Linked DNA regions of Homo sapiens: regions 1, 2, 3, 4 and 5 are each linked to region 6. The links are contacts of gene promoters, found by promoter capture Hi-C in blood cells and fetal thymus (Javierre and others, 2016). All regions are on one chromosome and are shown on one strand. Each heading gives the region's core, a stretch centred on a gene start or on the middle of the fragment in contact. The rest is flanking DNA. Distances are from core to core; before and after follow the strand shown. Region 1 overlaps KIF5C (kinesin family member 5C). Region 2 has its middle 92 kb from the start of EPC2. Region 3 has its middle 4.7 kb from the start of EPC2. Region 4 overlaps LOC124907896 (a long non-coding RNA gene). Region 5 holds the start of LYPD6B (LY6/PLAUR domain containing 6B). Region 6 holds the start of RBM43 (RNA binding motif protein 43).

Region 1 (2,700 bases), core at 28-2,527, 2.2 Mb before region 6:
CGGTTTACGTCTGTCTTATGTAAGGGAAATTTGAAGGTGGTACATCAGTAGTTAAGAATCTCCACAGTGAAAACAGAAACCTAGCCTCTTAACTAGGTTAAGCACGTGCCTGCCTCCTGAACTCAAGGCCAGCTCAAGGTCACCAAATGACTTCAGTTTCAGCCATCATGCCTACATTCCAACTTTAGCAACCAGAGAGGAAGCAGAGAAGAGGCAAAAGCAGCCGTCCTGAATGAATCTCCTTTAAGTAGCCTTCCTGAAGCCCCATGCAATGCTGATGCCTCCCTTTCCCTGGACAGCACTGAGCCACATGGCCACATCTAGCTGGAAAAGGTAGTCTTTTAGCTGGGCACATCACTACCCCAAAGAAAGGTAATGCTTTTAGAGCAAGGACAGGGAGAGTGGATGTTGAGGTGGGCAGCTGGCATACTGTGCATTATGGACCACCTAATATGCTGCAGCACTGGGCTAGATGTAATATAGGCATCACCTCATTTGATGAAAGCACACATAGAGGTGTATGTGTGTTTCCCAGCAAGGCCTTACTAAATATACTGGTCCAGGGATTCTGGGGTCCAGAGATTGTGCAGTGGGACAGTCACCTTCTTCATGGGTTCCAACAAAGGTCTGCCAGTCCCATATTTTATGTAGGCTCCAAACAACCAAATGCTGGCCATTCATCACCAGTGTAGCCTCTTCTCATACAGAAGAGTGAAAATCAGTAGGTCTGGGGAGACTTTCAAGACCTTCGGAGTGAAAGAACCACCCTCACCCATTGTGGCATTTTTTTTTAATTTTACTTTAAGTTCTGGGATACATGTGCTCAATGTCCAGGTTTGTCACATAAGTATACATGTGCCATGATGGTTTGCTGCACCCATCAACCCATCATCATCTTTTCGAGATGGAGTTTCACTCTTGTTGCCCAGGCTGGAGTGCAATGGCATGATCTTGGCTCACTGCATCCTCTGCCTCCTGGGTTCAAACGATTCTCCTGCCTCAGCCTCCCGAGTAGCTGGGATTACAGGCATGTGCCACCATGCCCAGCTAGTTTTTGTATTTTTAGTAGAGACAGGGTTTCACCATGTTGGCCAGGCTGGTCTTGAACTCCTAACTTCAAGTGATTCCCCCCACCTCAGCTTCCCAAAGTGCTGGGATTACAAGCGTGAGCTACTGCACCCAGCTGGCAATTTGTTTCTTTACTCAAAGTGTTACAAGTGGTTTTGATGGTTTTATCTGAATTCAGAGCCTCCTTGACATACCTTCTCCACACAGCTTCAGACACAGCTTCTGTAACTAGGTGCTTCTCTCACCAGGTTACAAAATAAACAGGCCCCCTCTTACAGCTCTCAGGATGGCAGTGTGGCTGAGGGGACTGGCATTGGACAAGGGACCTGGGTTCAGGTGTTAGGTCTTCCACTTCCTTCAAGTTACTTAAACTCAGGTCTGTTTCCTCATATATGAAATGGGGAAAATCTTTTATGTTGGTCATTGGCATTGACAGAAGGCTTAAATGAGGTCATGCTTCTAAGCCCATAACAATTGCTCAATAAAAATGTTAGCTGCTAGTATAGATGAGCACTGCAGAAGGTGGTAGTTGATACATGTTGGTTTATAGTGTCCTTTAATTCATATAGTTGTTACTAAATGGTTTTTAGTTCCTCTATAGCAATAAATCCTGGCGACTGGATAGGGAAGGCCTATTTCTAACTGAGTATCCTAGTTGTTGCTATGAACTGACATAAGGGCTTTTAAAGATAATATTGGCCGGGCATGGCGGGTCATGCCTGTAATCCCAGCACTTTGGGAAGCTGAGGTGGGCAGATCACTTTAGGTCAGGAGTTCAAGACCAGCCTGGCCAACATGGTGAAACATCCTTCCCTACTAAAAATAGAAAAATTAGCTGGGCGTAGACATGCACACCTGTAACCCTAGCTACTTGGGAGGTTGAAGTGGAGAATTGCTTGAACCCAGGAGGCAGAGGTTGCAGTGAGCCGAGATTGTGCCACTGCACTCCAGCCTAGGTGACAAAGTGAGAGCCTATCTAAAAAACATATATATATAATTTACTTATCTACAAGCTATGACTATTTTTAAGAAATGACTGGGCATTTGTCAGTGGAGATTAAAAAGGGGTAGTAATCAACAGATTCAGGAATTGCAATTGAAAAGTAAAGAAATGCTAAATCCTTTTTGAAAAGTAATTGAAAATATGGAATTCATTGCTTAGATGAGAGCAAAGCCTTTTTGAGACAGTCTTTCCTGACCTTTGGGATTTTCATTCTGAAGTATCTCTTCCCTGGGTAGAAATGATCTCAATTGTGTCTTCCCAGCCCTCCTGTGGAGTCAAAGCACATATTCTTACAGCTGGATATCTTTGGAATTTCCTTCTGCTTCATTTCAGGGTTCAAGAATTATAGCCATAATGAGTATTTTGGTTTATTCTCAAGGTTTCAGAGCCTATGAAGATGCCAATATACAAAAATCAAAAGAACCCAGGATAATGCTGGCTTTGATCTTATCTGGTTCAAATCCACAGGGGGCTGCCTCAGGAGGAGATGATCTTTTTCAAACCCCAGAGCTACATATGGGGCAGTGCAGTGCAACCATGTGACATTGGGCAAGTTACTTGATTTCTGTCAGCTTTAGGTTTCCTACCGGCTAAGTGGGATCAGGCATTGAGAGCCTAGCTCTGTACTT
Region 2 (2,700 bases), core at 66-2,565, 2.7 Mb before region 6:
TGAAATTCTGTATTTTCTATATACAACAATGAAAATTATTGGCTGTGCGCAGTGGCTCACACCTGTAATCCCAATACTTTGGGAAGCCTAGGCGAGCAGATCACTTGAGGCCAGGAGTTTCAGACCACCCTGGGTAACATGGTGAAACCCCATCTCTACTAAAAATACACACACACACACAAAAATTAGCTGGGTGTGGTTGCGCATACCTGTAATTCCAGCAACCAGAGAGGCTGTGGCACAAGAATCGCCTGATCCCAGGAGGCGGAGGTTGCAGTGAACTGAGATCATGCCACTGCACACCAGCCTGGGCAAGAGAGTGAGACATTGTGTCAAAAAAGAAAAAAAAAGGAAAATTCTTTGAAAAAGTTTGGACTATTTTTCAACACAATTTTAGTATTATCTCACATAAGTTGTCTCTGTGGCAGCTTTAAAACATGGCCATAAATCTTCCTGAACATTCCTTCCATAGAGAGGATAGCTTTGTGCTTTTTTCCCCATGATCTGGGTGAGGTTTTGACTGCTTCCATCATTGCAACAGGGGAGAAGCAACCCTATGTGACTTCCAGGTAAGGTCATAAAAGGCCGTGAGACCTCCACCCTGTCTCAGGAATACTCACTCTTGGAGTCCTGAACTGCGGCGTGAGAAGTCCCACTCCCCTAGCCTGACCACACTGGAGAGGCCACACACATGCACAGGTGACACTCCCAGCAGAGCTGTTCATTGGCGGTAGCTGGATTTGGGGGTGAAGAAGCAGTCTTGAATGGTTACCTGTGACTCAAGAGAGGACTTTTGCAATTTGATTGGAAAGCTTAGCAAAAACTTAGTAATTAATATTTGGAAGACTAAGCAATGAAAAAATGAGGTAATTAGTAATTCCAAGAAAACCAAAGTTGACCCATAAAAGAATAACAGCCTATATGGTTCAGCTGTGAGTACTTATAGTAATGCTAGCACAGTACATTGATTTAGCCAAAAATGGTGCTGTAACGATGTTGGGAGGGTGGGTGGAGGGGAAATATGCACAAGGAGGGTGCAGGAAGGCAATAAGTGTCTAAAATTGAAGAACCTAAAAATAGCTGTATTATTTGGAAGTACAGATATAAATTACAGAAGAAACAGATGGGCGATACTGAAGCAGGTGTGTGTGCCAATGGGAACGATACAGTAGCAAGGGAGACGCTGATGGGAGGGACTGAATGGATGATAGGAGGCCACTTGGACACAGCTGAGCAGACAGGGAAGGGGCAGAGGAGGCCAGCAAGTGTGGCTGTGCTTGTAGGTTTCTAGGTGGGGAAATGTGAGCATTTCCATCGGACAGCATCTCTTTCCTCAGTGAAACGAGGAGAGTTCATCAGCTGAGACTAAAAAGCAGGGAAGGGCAGTGGGAGTTTTAAGGATAAAAAAGGAATGAAAAAGTACCCTAGAAGAATACGAATGCTGGTTTTAACAGAGAAACACAGCAATATTGCTTAGTAGCTCCAAGTACCCCTTTGAGGTCTGCGATGAACTGAAAGTGAAAGCAGCCTGCTTGCTTGACTTTTCCATAGTAATGTCGAGCTGCTTGAGTGGAGAGATACATGGGTGGGCTCACTTAGTATTTTGTAGGAGACTCCGTGGAAAGGCAAGGGGATTCTGAGGATGAGAGTTTTGGAAGGAAGTTGTTTATGGTGATGAACCATAAGCCCTAAGCTGGACACGAGGAGTGAACAGAAAGGTGACTGACAAATTGTAAAAGGCGGTGGAGCCAACAGAAAAGAGATCTCAACAGAGTTGAAGAATTGTCACAGTAGACGCTCAAGTATGTGTCAAGGACAGAAAGCTTATGAGAGAGTGGGGCTTTGGGCTTGCAGCAGCAGAACAGTTTCTGGTGGTGACAAGGTTCAGGCTATGACCTTGAGGTGGAGTGGAGGGAGAAAACGTCATTCGAGATGAGAAGGTCCAGGAAACTGAGAAGCCAGGCTGCTAGATGGGACATTGTATGGTTACTTTAATGAGATTGTCAAGAAAGGCTATGCAGAGAAAAAGATGGGGAGCCAGGAGGTGCAGTCCAGTGAATGAGTGAATGGATCACATGGAAGAAAAGAAAAGACATGTGATCGCGTGGTATAGTCAGGAAGCCAGAGCTTTTAATGGGTAGGACATTTTGTAAAAGGTAACAGAGGTTAAGTTCCAGGAGCAACAGTAGAGAACAAGCAGGCACCAACACTCCTTCCAGGCCCTAAGGTTTGTAAGATATCAGACTGTAAGATATCAGACAGGCTCTGCCAGAAACAGCTGTGTGAATGTTGTACTCTTGGGACCAGCCAGGCTCCAATTAAGGCAAGGAAGAAAGAGGGAGGCTCTGATGTAGGCTGAGGACAGGCAAAATTGAGAGTCAAGGATTGGGGCTTCCAGAAGGCACAGTGGAAATGTTAGGGAGGAAATGAAGAGAATGGGTGGGAAACTGGATCAAATCAGGTGACGAGCACAGCAGGAAGGGGATGCAAGTCCAGGTGATAGTGGATGACTGGAGAGGTCTGCTCCTCTGGGGATAGCAGAGGAAAATGAACATCAGCTCTTGCCACTCCCCTGCTTAGAATCTTCTGATGGCTTCCATCACACTTCGAGTATAACTGAACTCCTTACAAGGACCCACAACGCTCTCCATCAGTGGTTCTCCAAGTGTGGTCCTTGGACTTGCAGCATCACCATCACCT
Region 3 (2,700 bases), core at 28-2,527, 2.6 Mb before region 6:
TCATTTAAGGCGTGTGGGCCTGCCCTTAATTGGGCATTTAGAAGAGCTGCACTTCAGGCAATTGTAATAGTGCACAATTTTGAGCTCTCAGCAGGACAGTTTATCAGGAGACAGTTGAGAGAAAAAGAATCTTCAGGCAGGATTGCCTGGGGGCCGTAGGGTCCATTCATACTCCCAGATCTGTATGGGGTGGGGCTCATGGCTTCAGACATCCAGCTCCATTCTAACCTCTGCAGAATTGGTTGTGCTGGATTGCGTATAATGCCGTCAGTGTATATGGAGGGTCACTATAAGAAACAGCCCTTAGATGCCCCTTTTGTATCTATTGTAAGATTACTGTTGAAATATCTGTTATATCACCTAGTTGCTCTATTTATAAAGACTCTTGGACATTGCAATGAGTACCAGGAACAACTGTAACTCTCCTGAGCAGTCATTTTATCTAATGGATATTGTGAGCTGTGAAGCTGACAAAGTTTCCTAATTTCGTGTTACTAGGAAATTTAGAACCCAAATGCTATCCTAGCATATTTTAGCAACTCTTAAAAGCCACTTGAAATCCTTTCTGAAACAAGGTGAGAGGTATGGGTGAGTCAGTAAATTTCTAAGTAATTAGTGTGTTTTATTTCAGTGGTCTCTGTTTCTTTCCCTGCCAAAGTCACCTTTAATAGCTGAGGAAAGACAAGTAAATCTGTCTTCTAATTTGGAGAAAACAAAGTGGCTTTCCTTTCTACCTCCTAACAAGTCACTGTGGAATTTAAGGGGCTCTCAGTATGCTACTATCAGAACCTTTTTCTTAGGAAACAGGTTATTTTGTTCTAGGGGACAACAAAAGATCAGATCAGTAAGGCATGGCTGTTAATAAATCAATTCACCGATTTTCTTCAATTCAGGATTCCAGCTGCATACGCCATTCACAAATCTGTGGTTATAAACATTTAATCTTTTGTTGGTGGTAGAGATTTAAAAAAATAGGTGAGAGGAACCATGTTTAGACGAGCAACCCAAGTTTCCTAACAATGGACTCCTCTTAGCTAACACTTGGACCCCAGTGAGCTTGGTGCTCTGAGCCTGCTTGTTGTCTGAGATGGGCCAGCAAAGTCAGTGAGACTGAACTGCCTTCACAGGGATTGAAACAACCTTCCAAGTTACCTTTCAGAGGTGCCTCAGGAGAACAGGATGCACCAATGGAGACAGAAACTGTGAAGAATATACATTTCAGGAGCCCTAAACCAACAGTGGGTGTGCATCTGTAGCCCCCAAAGCCCCAGGATCTCCACTCCAACACCCTTATGAAAATAATATGAATCATCCAGCTAGTTCCATGAATGTAATAGTGTCTTCAGCTGAATGACAGCTGTGCTGAATTTAGAGTGGGTTTCCTCCAAGTGTGGAATTTCTCAAGGGCAAGGTAGCTGGATTGGAAAGGATCCTATTTTTTAACCTCCCGTGGCCTTGCTCCAACAATTGTATTTCTGTTCCAAACTCGGTCATTTTTAAAACCTCACTATCATCCAATTTTATTAAAATAAGTACTTATTTTTAAAAATAATTATTTTACTTATTTTATTAAAACAAGTAGGCTCATATTCATCAGCTCAATGGAACCTAGTGCCTCTCAAAAATCCAAAGTCCAGGCCAGGTACGGTGGCTCACTCCTGTAATCCCAGCACTTTGGGAGGCTGAGGCAGGCAGATCATGAGGTCAGGAGTTCAAGACCAGCCTGACCAACATGGCAAAACCCTGTCTCTACTAAAAATACAAAAATTAGCCAGGCGTGGTGGCATGTGCCTGTAATCTCAGCTACTCAGGAGGCTGAGGCAGGAGAATTGCTTGAACCCAGGAAGCAGAGGTTGCAGTGAGCCAAGATTGCACCACTGCACTCCAGCCTGGGTGACAGAGACTCCATCTCAAAAAAAAAAAAAAAAAAAAGAAAGAAAAAAAAAATCCTGAAATTACATCTACATAGCTTGCTTGCTGTTTGGACACACATAACTGTCCAAGTCAGATTTGTTAGCTTCATCACAAGAGCTTTACTTATTTCTCTTATCCCCATCCAAAAGCCTGAGTGAGCAGCGTCAATCTATTCCAAATGTGGAGCACTGGTTGTGTTTTACGGTCCGGGTGGGGCAACAAATGAGACAGGCTGTCAGTGCAATTCAAAATTGGGTGTTGTGGACCCTCTGGAGCTGTGTGTTTTCAAATCTGTTTCTTTTTTTTTTAGTTACCAAAATGCAGAGCTTTCAGGCTGATTATTTTGGAGTCTATTTGGATCCTTTGTGGAGCTGGGAAGTAAATCGTCAGCTTATACACAAGGTGGCACCCTGTGATTCCAACCAGGTCTGAGAGGAGCGATGCTGCTAAGAAACTGAGCCACAGTCACAAATTTTTATTTACCATCTGCTATTCCCACGGTGGCAAATGCAGAGGTAGAAGTAGATGTTTGGCAGGTCACCTCTCAGTGTAGTCTCTGTCCCTATGTCTCAAAGATGCAGAGCTGCCTCAGAAAAGGGCACTGGAACCACAGAACTGATTCCAGTTGATTGTAATGAATGCAGACCCCACATTCAGATTACATATGGAAAACAACGAAGCTTTATTAGTACTAGGCTCATTCCTGGGAACATAAGGGGGAGGGGTGGAGATGCAGTTCACATACTAACCCAATTAACTTTCAAATGGTTTTGCTGAAACCAGGAG
Region 4 (2,700 bases), core at 23-2,522, 2.7 Mb before region 6:
TGGGCATATCTTGCTAAAAGATGGGGGCAGAATGTGTTCAGCACCGGTAGAGGGGGTAGGTTTAGCTGAGCCTCTGTGAGGGTTTTAGCAGAGCCTCTGTGGGGTTTCCTGTCCTTCCAGCTCCCACTGCAGAACACTGTGTATGAGGAACACAGCCAGAAGGACTGGTGGCCTGAGGCTTTGGTCCCTGAACTGTGACCAGGTCCCCCTAGAACACAGCTTTCCCTGCCAAGTTAATCTTAAATAACTTTGGTGGTCAGGGAGATAACCTTAGGGAAAATCTCCTGTGACCTTTTACAGACTCTGTCTCCCTTTTCCAATCAAATCAGGATTATTTAGAATCGGTGGATTCCTTTGAATTCCTAAATAAGCATGGAGGTCAGGAGCTTGTGATTTCAGGCTAATTGTCACTGTTCTGGTTTATTTGGCAAAGTGGGAAGCAAACATTCACCAGAGCTGGGAGAAAAAAGCATGCAAGAATTGGAATGAAGAGATGCACTGGGCTGCTTCTGGACAAGCTGTCTGTCTAGGCAAGAGTCAGCAAAGGCAAGAAGAGACCATTTCCTTCTCCATTTCTCTTGGTTTCCTGGCTCTTCCCAAATGTCCAGGGGATCCTGAAGGGGGTGAAGGGTGGGGGTGGTAGGGGAAGTGTGTGCCTTGTGCCTTCTAAGGCAACCATGTTGGCCAAAAGAATCAAGCCATGACAATGGCCATTGTGAAGACCCCGCAGCTTTCTGAGCAGAGAACACAGCGAAAGAGCTGTGTGGTTCCTGTCTCAGAGCATAGCTTTCCTTTCTCTAAGGCAATGGTCTCCAAACTTTTCTTCAAGAATTCCTATCAGTAAAGTAAAAATAAAATTGAGGACATACTATGCATATATACATATGTGCATATGTACTTTATGTGTGCTACTGAATTAATATATCATATGTGTTATAAAACACACAAAATAGAAACTAGGTAACTGAGATGAACTGATAGGTTTATATTTTCCTCCCTCTTCCCAGTGGATTGCCTTGCATCATGGCCAGGGTGTGTGCATTCAACTTTGGCAGTCTTGGCCTGAGTGACAGAATACTGGAAGGTCCTAATAAGCTTCTCCAATGAGCATAGGCAGTGATGGAACCAAACCATCAAAATGAGCTCTTCAAAGAAGAACCCAGGTTTTCCTCTTCAGCTGCATATGATCAATTCTAATTAAATGGTAAAGGAAAGAAGAATAGAAGGAAAGAATTCTTGAAAATCTGGTAACTAACATGGAAGCTGTGCTTTATATCAGGTTATGTGAGTAATCTTGATCTGTCTACAAGCTCAAAGTTTCTATCCAAATATATTTATCTGGATCCGAGGCAGGATCACTGCCAGGCTCTGTCACCTGCTCAGGAGAGTCACCTACCCAGTATACAAGGGGATAACCACAGGGCACACCGAAGCCATTGCAGAACTTCCCAAGCTTGGGTCAGGCCTCCTGACTCTACACACGCACGTGTACTCCACCCATTCCCAGCCTCCCAGCTTTCTTGACAAGTACCCAAGGAGGATGGTTCTTGTCAACTCATTGATAAGGTCATGGTATTGTGGAGCAGGAGCTAACCTGTGTTCTATTTTCAGCTCTCTTGTTAGCTGTGTGAGCTTGGGCAAGTGCCTCACCTTCTCTGAACCTGAGTTTTTGCATCTGTTTAGGCCATGATATTACCCTGCCTACCCCACAGTGTTATCACGAAATTCACATGAACACACATATGAAGGTGCTTTGCAAACACTGTACAAGTGAAATTGTAAGGTATCCTGACTCATGTGCTAAGGCCTTTTCAAGGCACAAGGACAAATGTTTCCCAGGGATCCTATAGTTAGCCACTCTGAGGCATTTTCCCTTAGGAGCCCAGCCCTGAGGGAAACTGGCTCATGGCAGATTTTTAATCCGAACCCAGAGCTCTGGAGGCTTTATAATCCTAAAGACTAAACCAGGTGAACAACAAAAACATCCATAAAGCAATTTGGGTAAATTTCCATGCTTCCAGGTAATGCCTAGGTTTCTAAGGGGTTGCATTTGTTTGTTCAGTCATTCAAGAATTTATAGATCATCTTAACTCTGAGATAAAGTGAAAAAAAGAGCTCATGTTCCAGCAGATGAGAAAGACATGGAAACAGTCATTGCAAGACACTGACAGGAGCCACAAACCAGGTATGCATTACAATGGGCTTTGGAACACTGGGAGGCTTAAATAAATCGAGTTAAGTGACTTATGAAAGAATAGGAGTTCAGGCATGGCCAGCAGGGGCAAAAGACATTCAAGAAAGAGGAAAAGAAGTGCAGAGATCAGGAGTGGGGCTGAGGGGTAAGGAGGGGTAGAGAACAGCATGATTTTCTGGGAACTGTAAGGGATTTAATAAGTCTTGAATGTAACATAAGGAAGAAGAGGGGTAGACAGTAAGCATAGAAAGTAAGCAGAAGCCAGATCATGGTGGAAGTGGGGTGGCAGCAGGTCTCCCAAGCCAGTAGAAAGTGGAAAAGGGCAGGTGCTCTGCCCTCAAACCCACCCCATTTTCCATAGGAGGACCAGGAAGATATCTGGGAAGAAGAGACGTACCTAAAAGAAATTTTTTTCTTGAAAAGCCATTTATGCCATGTACTGGGCAACATAAACTCCCTTTGTGCCTCCAAAAATCTTTAGAGAAATTTCAAAAAAGTTATGATGT
Region 5 (2,700 bases), core at 15-2,514, 2.2 Mb before region 6:
GTGTGTGTGTGTGTGTGAGTGAAGGCCATTTGTTAAATGGAACACCTAAAAATACCATTGTTTTTGTTTTTGCGGTTGTCAGGGGCCTCAATAAATGCAAGCTGGCTCAGGAGATGCTTGACCTCAGAGGTCTGGAAAGACAGATTAGAAGTCTCAGCAGAGGACCAAACCCAGACCCCACTTCTGCAGAAGTTCTGTACCCAGGTTTCCCCACTGCAGGCATAACCAGCAGCCCCTCAAAGGCCCCAGACCAGCCAACTGTCTTTAGAAATGCAGACCCAGGATCAGCTTTGCTACCAGCCATGGAATCTTGGGTCAGTGGCCCATACTCTGAGCTGTGTTTCCACAGTGCAAGGCTGGCCGGACAGTGTTTTATTTCAGAGTTCTCCTGTCTGTGGCATCTTCAGAAGTTAAAGATTTGCTTGACCACTATAAGGTGCCCTGGGAGTGTAGACCTCCCACATCCCAGCTGCCTGGCTGGCAGTGGGTGGGGAGTAAGCAGTAGAGAGAGGACAGGTGGCCCGGAATCTAACAGCTTGCCTCTGGATTCTCCCTAGTAAGCTTGGAATGATGCTGGAGCAGCTCTGGGCCGAGGGGACCAGTCTAACGCTGGACGCAAAAGACTGGGCGCCACCTAGTCTGTTCATCAGGTATTAAATGCCCTGAGTTTTCAAAGCTCTGGTGATTCAGTAGTGGACGGGTAAGGTTCCTGCCTCTCCTGGGGCTTACCGTCCAGGGGTGGGGAGGACGTCACTATATGAAATTATCTTATTTATAGCTTAATGTCATTATTTAAAAAGGGGGAGGGAATCACTTGACGGGTGGGCAAGGTGGGGACGGGGTTGGATGGAATGGTCAAAAAAGGTCTTTCAGAGTTCTTCCAATCCTGAACTAACTCACCTGCACCCTTGGCCCAATCATTTTCACTCCCGAGGGTCTGCACTCCTCGTTTCTACATTGGTTTTCTAGGAAGAAAGGGGTTGGACCCTCCCCTCTTTAAGCTGGGTGGGGTCCGAATCCCGTGCTTCTTTCACTTCCTGAGCCGGGCTGGCTGGGTGGGAACAGGCTCCTTGCCGCCTCCCCAGCGCTGGCCACTACCACACTGCCGCCCGCCTGGGCCTCCTTTCAACCTCGTGGTGGAGCCCTGCGGTTTCCCAGCGGAGCCGGGCCCGGGGCTGCTCCCTCGCGGGCGAGGCTCACCTGTCCCGGCCCGGCCCCCTCCCGCGCCCCAGGTGGTTCAGGGCAGGGAGGAGCCGCGCCCCGCCCCGCGCGGTAGCAGCCAACGCCGGCCCCAGGCGGGTGCGCTGGGAGCCTGGGCCGGGAGCCGGGTGAGGGCGCCGAGAGGCTCGGTGGGCGCGGGCGGCGAGGTGAGCTGGGCCAGCGCAGCAGGCGGGGGCGGTGGTGGGTTCGGGACGGCTCACCCCGCGCCGGAGCGAGTGCGGGGCCGCGCGACTGCGGCGGGAGATGCGCTGCGCCCCTTCTGGGCGCGCTGGGGCAGCCAGGAGCTCGCGGGGCCGCGGGGCCGCGGGGCCGCGGGGCCGCGGCGCAGTGGCGGGGTCGGGGTCTGGTCGCTGCCTCGAGGCGAGCAGCTGCCAACATCTGGACGGGACGGGAGCAGGGGGCCGGGGCAAGGCTGGAGCGGTGTGGGTCTCTAATCGTCCAGAGCCCTGCGGGGCCAGTGACTTCGGCAGAGCCGAGGGGAGAGGAGATACTGGGGGTCAAACTGCTGGAGAGAGCGCGGAGCTGGGGCTGGGGTTCAAGGCCGATCGTGGGGCCAAGAGCGAGCGTGCCAGCTCCAGTGTTTCCCCCTGCAGCGCTTCACGCGCGACCAGCTTGGGTGCCGCCGCTTCCCTTGCCCCGGCTCTTTACTTTTGTTGTTGAATAACCTACCTTACACATTGGTTAGTTACCTGGGGCTTCTCAAAAGCCGGGTCTGGAGGCTGCTCTGACTCCAGGGGGCTTGGGTTGTGAGGCTTCAGGTCTGTATGCCCTGTGGCGTTTGGGGGGAGCTGGTGGGTGGAGGGGTGCTGTCCACCTCCCAAGGCCAGGGGATCAGAGAGTGGGAAAAGTCTAGAATGCTATTTAAATTCCAGTAACTAGCTGTGTGACCTTGGGCAAGTTACTGAACTGCTCTGAGCCTCAGTTCCCTTAAAGTAAAATAGGTATTATTAATATTATAATCATTACAACAGACTTAGGTTATATGATGTTCATGGAGTACATAGCATACTGCTTGATTTTTCCCCCTTTGTGTTGATGTGGTGATGTGTGTGTTGTGGGGTGGGGGCATTCTTTCCCACCCTGACTTGTTCATGGTTAGGCTTCCTCCAGGATGCCTTACTTGCTGACAGCATCACAGAGGCCAAGATTAGGGCTGCCAGTGCACGGGCCCTGCAGATGGAGGGGGTGTTGTCAGACTGCCCTCATCATTACCCATCGTATTTGTCAGAATTGTTTTCTTTGGGTTGGGTTTTGGTCACTTGAAAATTGCCTTATACTATGTAGAAATTGATTGGGTCACATAAATGAAAAGGTCGAGGGTTTCAGTTTAAAGCTATAGCTAGTTCCAGAGGCTCATACAAGGTTCCAGGGCTAGTTCTCTCTCTTGTATATCTTAGCTGTTTTTCTCTCTGTGTTTACTGGTTCTTAGTATGGACGATAAATAGGACTTGCACCTTCAGGCTTATCTGCTCCTTCAGA
Region 6 (2,804 bases), core at 76-2,575:
TCAAAGAAACTTCTCCCTGAACCAGTATTTTTAGAAGAAAAAAACATAAAGATGTAAATTTTGTTTGGTAAGAACTAGTTTCTATGAATCATCTAATGAATTAGTACTTCAATGACTTGCCAATATTTGTCCTTAACTCCCTTTCATAGGTTGGAGAAAGTATGGCTAACATAGATAATTTTACTGAGGTCAATTATGAATAATGAGGGTTGTTCATCTCTTCTACCCACGATTAAGATAAAGAAATGCCTAGAGAAAGACAGTCCTTTCAAGGACTTTGAAACGAGCAGCTTTTAGCCAAGACATACTAACGTGATGGCGCATTTCCTTGCATCAGTATTGTGTTATAACAGACTTGGCCATCTTATCAGAAAGCAAAAAGTATATAGCAAAACTTTACTTTTGTAAGTAAGGCATTGGGAAGAAACAGAAGATTCATTGACTGCATTTGTTTATATTGATTTTCTCAAAATCAGTTGTTTATTTTCAATGACGACGCCTCTACCGCCACCAGGTCAACAAAAACGTACTTGCTTTTGCATTTCCGGGACTCTAGCATTTCAGAGCAGGAATTAAAGGCCTTGCCAAGGCTTTTAAGCGATTGATGGAAACAAAACAAAACACAGAAGGATAAATTTTGAATTTGCTAAGACAAGAATTCGCACCAAGGCAGACATAAGACATGAGGATGTCTTCCTGACTTGCGTCCTTGGCTCGAATCGTTCTTATTAGCCCTTTTCAAAAGGCAGCTGTGACCTCCATTTCTGGCTAATCAGGCCACTTTTGTTCCCCCCGAGGCGTGGGAGGACAACAGTTAAGCCCTAACAGCCTGCGAAGCAGCTCCTCGACGAACGGCGGCGTCCCCGTCGCCTGGGCAGTGGGTGTGGGAGGTGACAGCCTAGTCCTGAGCCTCTGGAGCGGGCCTATACTGCACCGCCGTACGTGAATTTCAGGAGCGCGCAATGCCGCCACCTGGGAAGGGTGCAGCGAGGCTGACCTGAGTTTGCCCGCCGGGGTGGACGGCTCTCCGGGGCCCCCGGGGTCCCTGGGGCCCCTCCGTGCGCCGCCCCCTCCCGCGCAGCCCTGCACCCTGGCCCGTCGCGCCCGGTTCCGCGCCCTTCTAGGGGACCATGGCGACGGTACAGGCACGGACCTGCACCGCAAAACCCAAAGCAAAAGCAACTTGCCATGGCGGAGGGGAGACGCGCCCTCAGCGGCCGCAGAAAGCCCACAACCAGCGGAACGCAGGCGATGGGGAGAGGAGCGAGCAGGCAGGTTTTGGTTTCGTTTTTTGTTCCAGCTCCCTTGGAGGCTACGAAGAAAAGGGCGGTCCTTCCACCCGATCCGGCTGTTCTGCGACCTCGTGGCCTCTGAGTGGGAGCTCGGACTCAGGAGTGCTGTTGCCAGCGCCTGCCCAGACGCCCTCCGTAGTTTTGCAACTTGTGGAAGCACTCTGGAGAGAGGCCGAGAGGATTCCTCGACAGGAAATTTGGGAATTCTCTGGGTGATGCATCAGTGATTGCAATTTTGTTTTTACCCGTTTTGCTAAGCAGCAGCAACAACGGCAGAGTTGATTTAAAAAAAGAAAAAACGCAAAAAGGGAAAACACATAGTAGGTGGTGGCCGCTTCCTGTGTTGATACTGGGGGGCTACGCTTTTCCTAACATCAATCATCTCGTAGTTGCAGAGAGCCCTAGATGTCATGATAGTTTTGAATCGCATGCATTATCATGTAAGGGAGTTAAATATCTTGCATGCATGCTCTCTTCTGTGTTTATATATTCGATGCCATGAAATTGAAGGGCATGTGGCTAAAACCTTTTTACTACATGAAACTTTACAACACTTTTGAAAACATTTCAATTTGGTTGATGCGCACTGTAATATTTCTCCAGATAACTGTCCAAAATTTTCCATGGAGAAGGCTTTTATCCTCATTAGTTGCTGGCCTCAAACTAACCATCTAGGATATTAAACTTCTGCCAGAATTTTACATCCAGCTACCTTTACTTTTTAGAACGTATTCTCTATCATGTTATTGATATCAATTTCTACTTCACACAGATGGTTTTTTACAACAGCAAATCAAGTTTTTCTAACATCAGTTTTAAAAAGCCCTGCACTCAGTGAAATCTGGATGTCTTTCCTACGCCCTTATTATCTGTCCAGACTTCTTCCCCTTCCCCCACCGCTCACCTGGGCCTTTTCCTCTGCACAACCTACCCCAGTTCCCCAACCCCCACCTCAACCCCCAACGCCGTGTTGGTCACCTTCCCAGCCCAGACCAGGAGCCCTCTTGGACCTCTGCCGGGTGCTAAGGACACAGGATGAGAGCGCCAGGTCCCTGCCAGCAGAGAGCTCACCACCTTGTCCATGCCTTAGCACAGGAACCCCGAATGGCGCCTGTGGGGACACAGGGAATCTCTGGACAAACTTCAAAATCAAATCAATGAATGCATGAAGAACAAAGGTAGATGGCTAGCAGATATGAAGAAACCCAATCCCACTCCTAAGAAATGTAAATTGAAATAATAAGATACCATTTTTCACAACTAGATCTGCAAAACCAGAAAGTGTTAGCCTGAATGTAAGCATCAGAGTTGCTGCAAGCATAGATGGATGCAAATACTTCTAAAGATTTTTATCAAAATGTAAAGTGCAAAAAAATGTAAAATGCACATATTCTTAGTCTCAGCAATTCTACTTTTAGAACTGAACTTGAAGTTATAGTGCGCAAATGGCACTAAGATATTGTATAGAAATTTTAGTTGTACATTGCTTGAAATACAGGTAGTAATAATTTT

The links. Contacts are between HindIII fragments. The CHiCAGO score rates a contact against its expected background, and 5 or more counts as called.
Region 1: a contact is called between a fragment that was not itself captured here and the fragment with the promoter of RBM43 in region 6, in 3 of 17 cell types (total CD4 T cells, activated CD4 T cells and naive CD8 T cells). The highest score is 9.3, in total CD4 T cells.
Region 2: a contact is called between a fragment that was not itself captured here and the fragment with the promoter of RBM43 in region 6, in 1 of 17 cell types (non-activated CD4 T cells). The highest score is 6.8, in non-activated CD4 T cells.
Region 3: a contact is called between a fragment that was not itself captured here and the fragment with the promoter of RBM43 in region 6, in 1 of 17 cell types (total CD4 T cells). The highest score is 8.7, in total CD4 T cells.
Region 4: a contact is called between a fragment that was not itself captured here and the fragment with the promoter of RBM43 in region 6, in 1 of 17 cell types (total CD4 T cells). The highest score is 5.6, in total CD4 T cells.
Region 5: a contact is called between the fragment with the promoter of LYPD6B here and the fragment with the promoter of RBM43 in region 6, in 1 of 17 cell types (M2 macrophages). The highest score is 5.4, in M2 macrophages.

The regions. Positions count from the first base shown.
Region 1 is chr2:149,013,141-149,015,840 of GRCh38, forward strand. All of the region lies in intron 25 of KIF5C (kinesin family member 5C), which reads left to right. Among named protein-coding and RNA genes, the nearest start is that of LYPD6B, 24 kb to the right of the region's middle. The HindIII fragment of the contact is 4,420 bases long and covers 1-2,700 here.
Region 2 is chr2:148,551,642-148,554,341 of GRCh38, forward strand. No RefSeq gene overlaps it. Among named protein-coding and RNA genes, the nearest start is that of EPC2, 92 kb to the right of the region's middle. RefSeq lists an enhancer at 2,161-2,700. The HindIII fragment of the contact is 1,011 bases long and covers 811-1,821 here.
Region 3 is chr2:148,638,652-148,641,351 of GRCh38, forward strand. No RefSeq gene overlaps it. Among named protein-coding and RNA genes, the nearest start is that of EPC2, 4.7 kb to the right of the region's middle. The HindIII fragment of the contact is 2,630 bases long and covers 1-2,592 here.
Region 4 is chr2:148,521,274-148,523,973 of GRCh38, forward strand. It overlaps LOC124907896 (a long non-coding RNA gene), which reads left to right. Exons shown (of 2, transcript XR_007087259.1): 2 at 434-2,700. Among named protein-coding and RNA genes, the nearest start is that of EPC2, 120 kb to the right of the region's middle. RefSeq lists an enhancer at 1,921-2,458. The HindIII fragment of the contact is 358 bases long and covers 1,094-1,451 here.
Region 5 is chr2:149,037,435-149,040,134 of GRCh38, forward strand. It overlaps LYPD6B (LY6/PLAUR domain containing 6B), which reads left to right and starts at 1,265. Exons shown (of 7, transcript NM_177964.5): 1 at 1,265-1,367. RefSeq lists enhancers at 335-394, 1,608-1,657, 1,698-1,757 and silencers at 1,018-1,357, 1,368-1,527. The HindIII fragment of the contact is 3,848 bases long and covers 560-2,700 here.
Region 6 is chr2:151,260,538-151,263,341 of GRCh38, forward strand. It overlaps RBM43 (RNA binding motif protein 43), which reads right to left and starts at 1,326. Exons shown (of 4, transcript NM_198557.3): 1 at 1,188-1,326. The coding sequence starts at 1,190. RefSeq lists a silencer at 870-1,139 and an enhancer at 1,180-1,409. The HindIII fragment of the contact is 8,034 bases long and covers 1-2,804 here.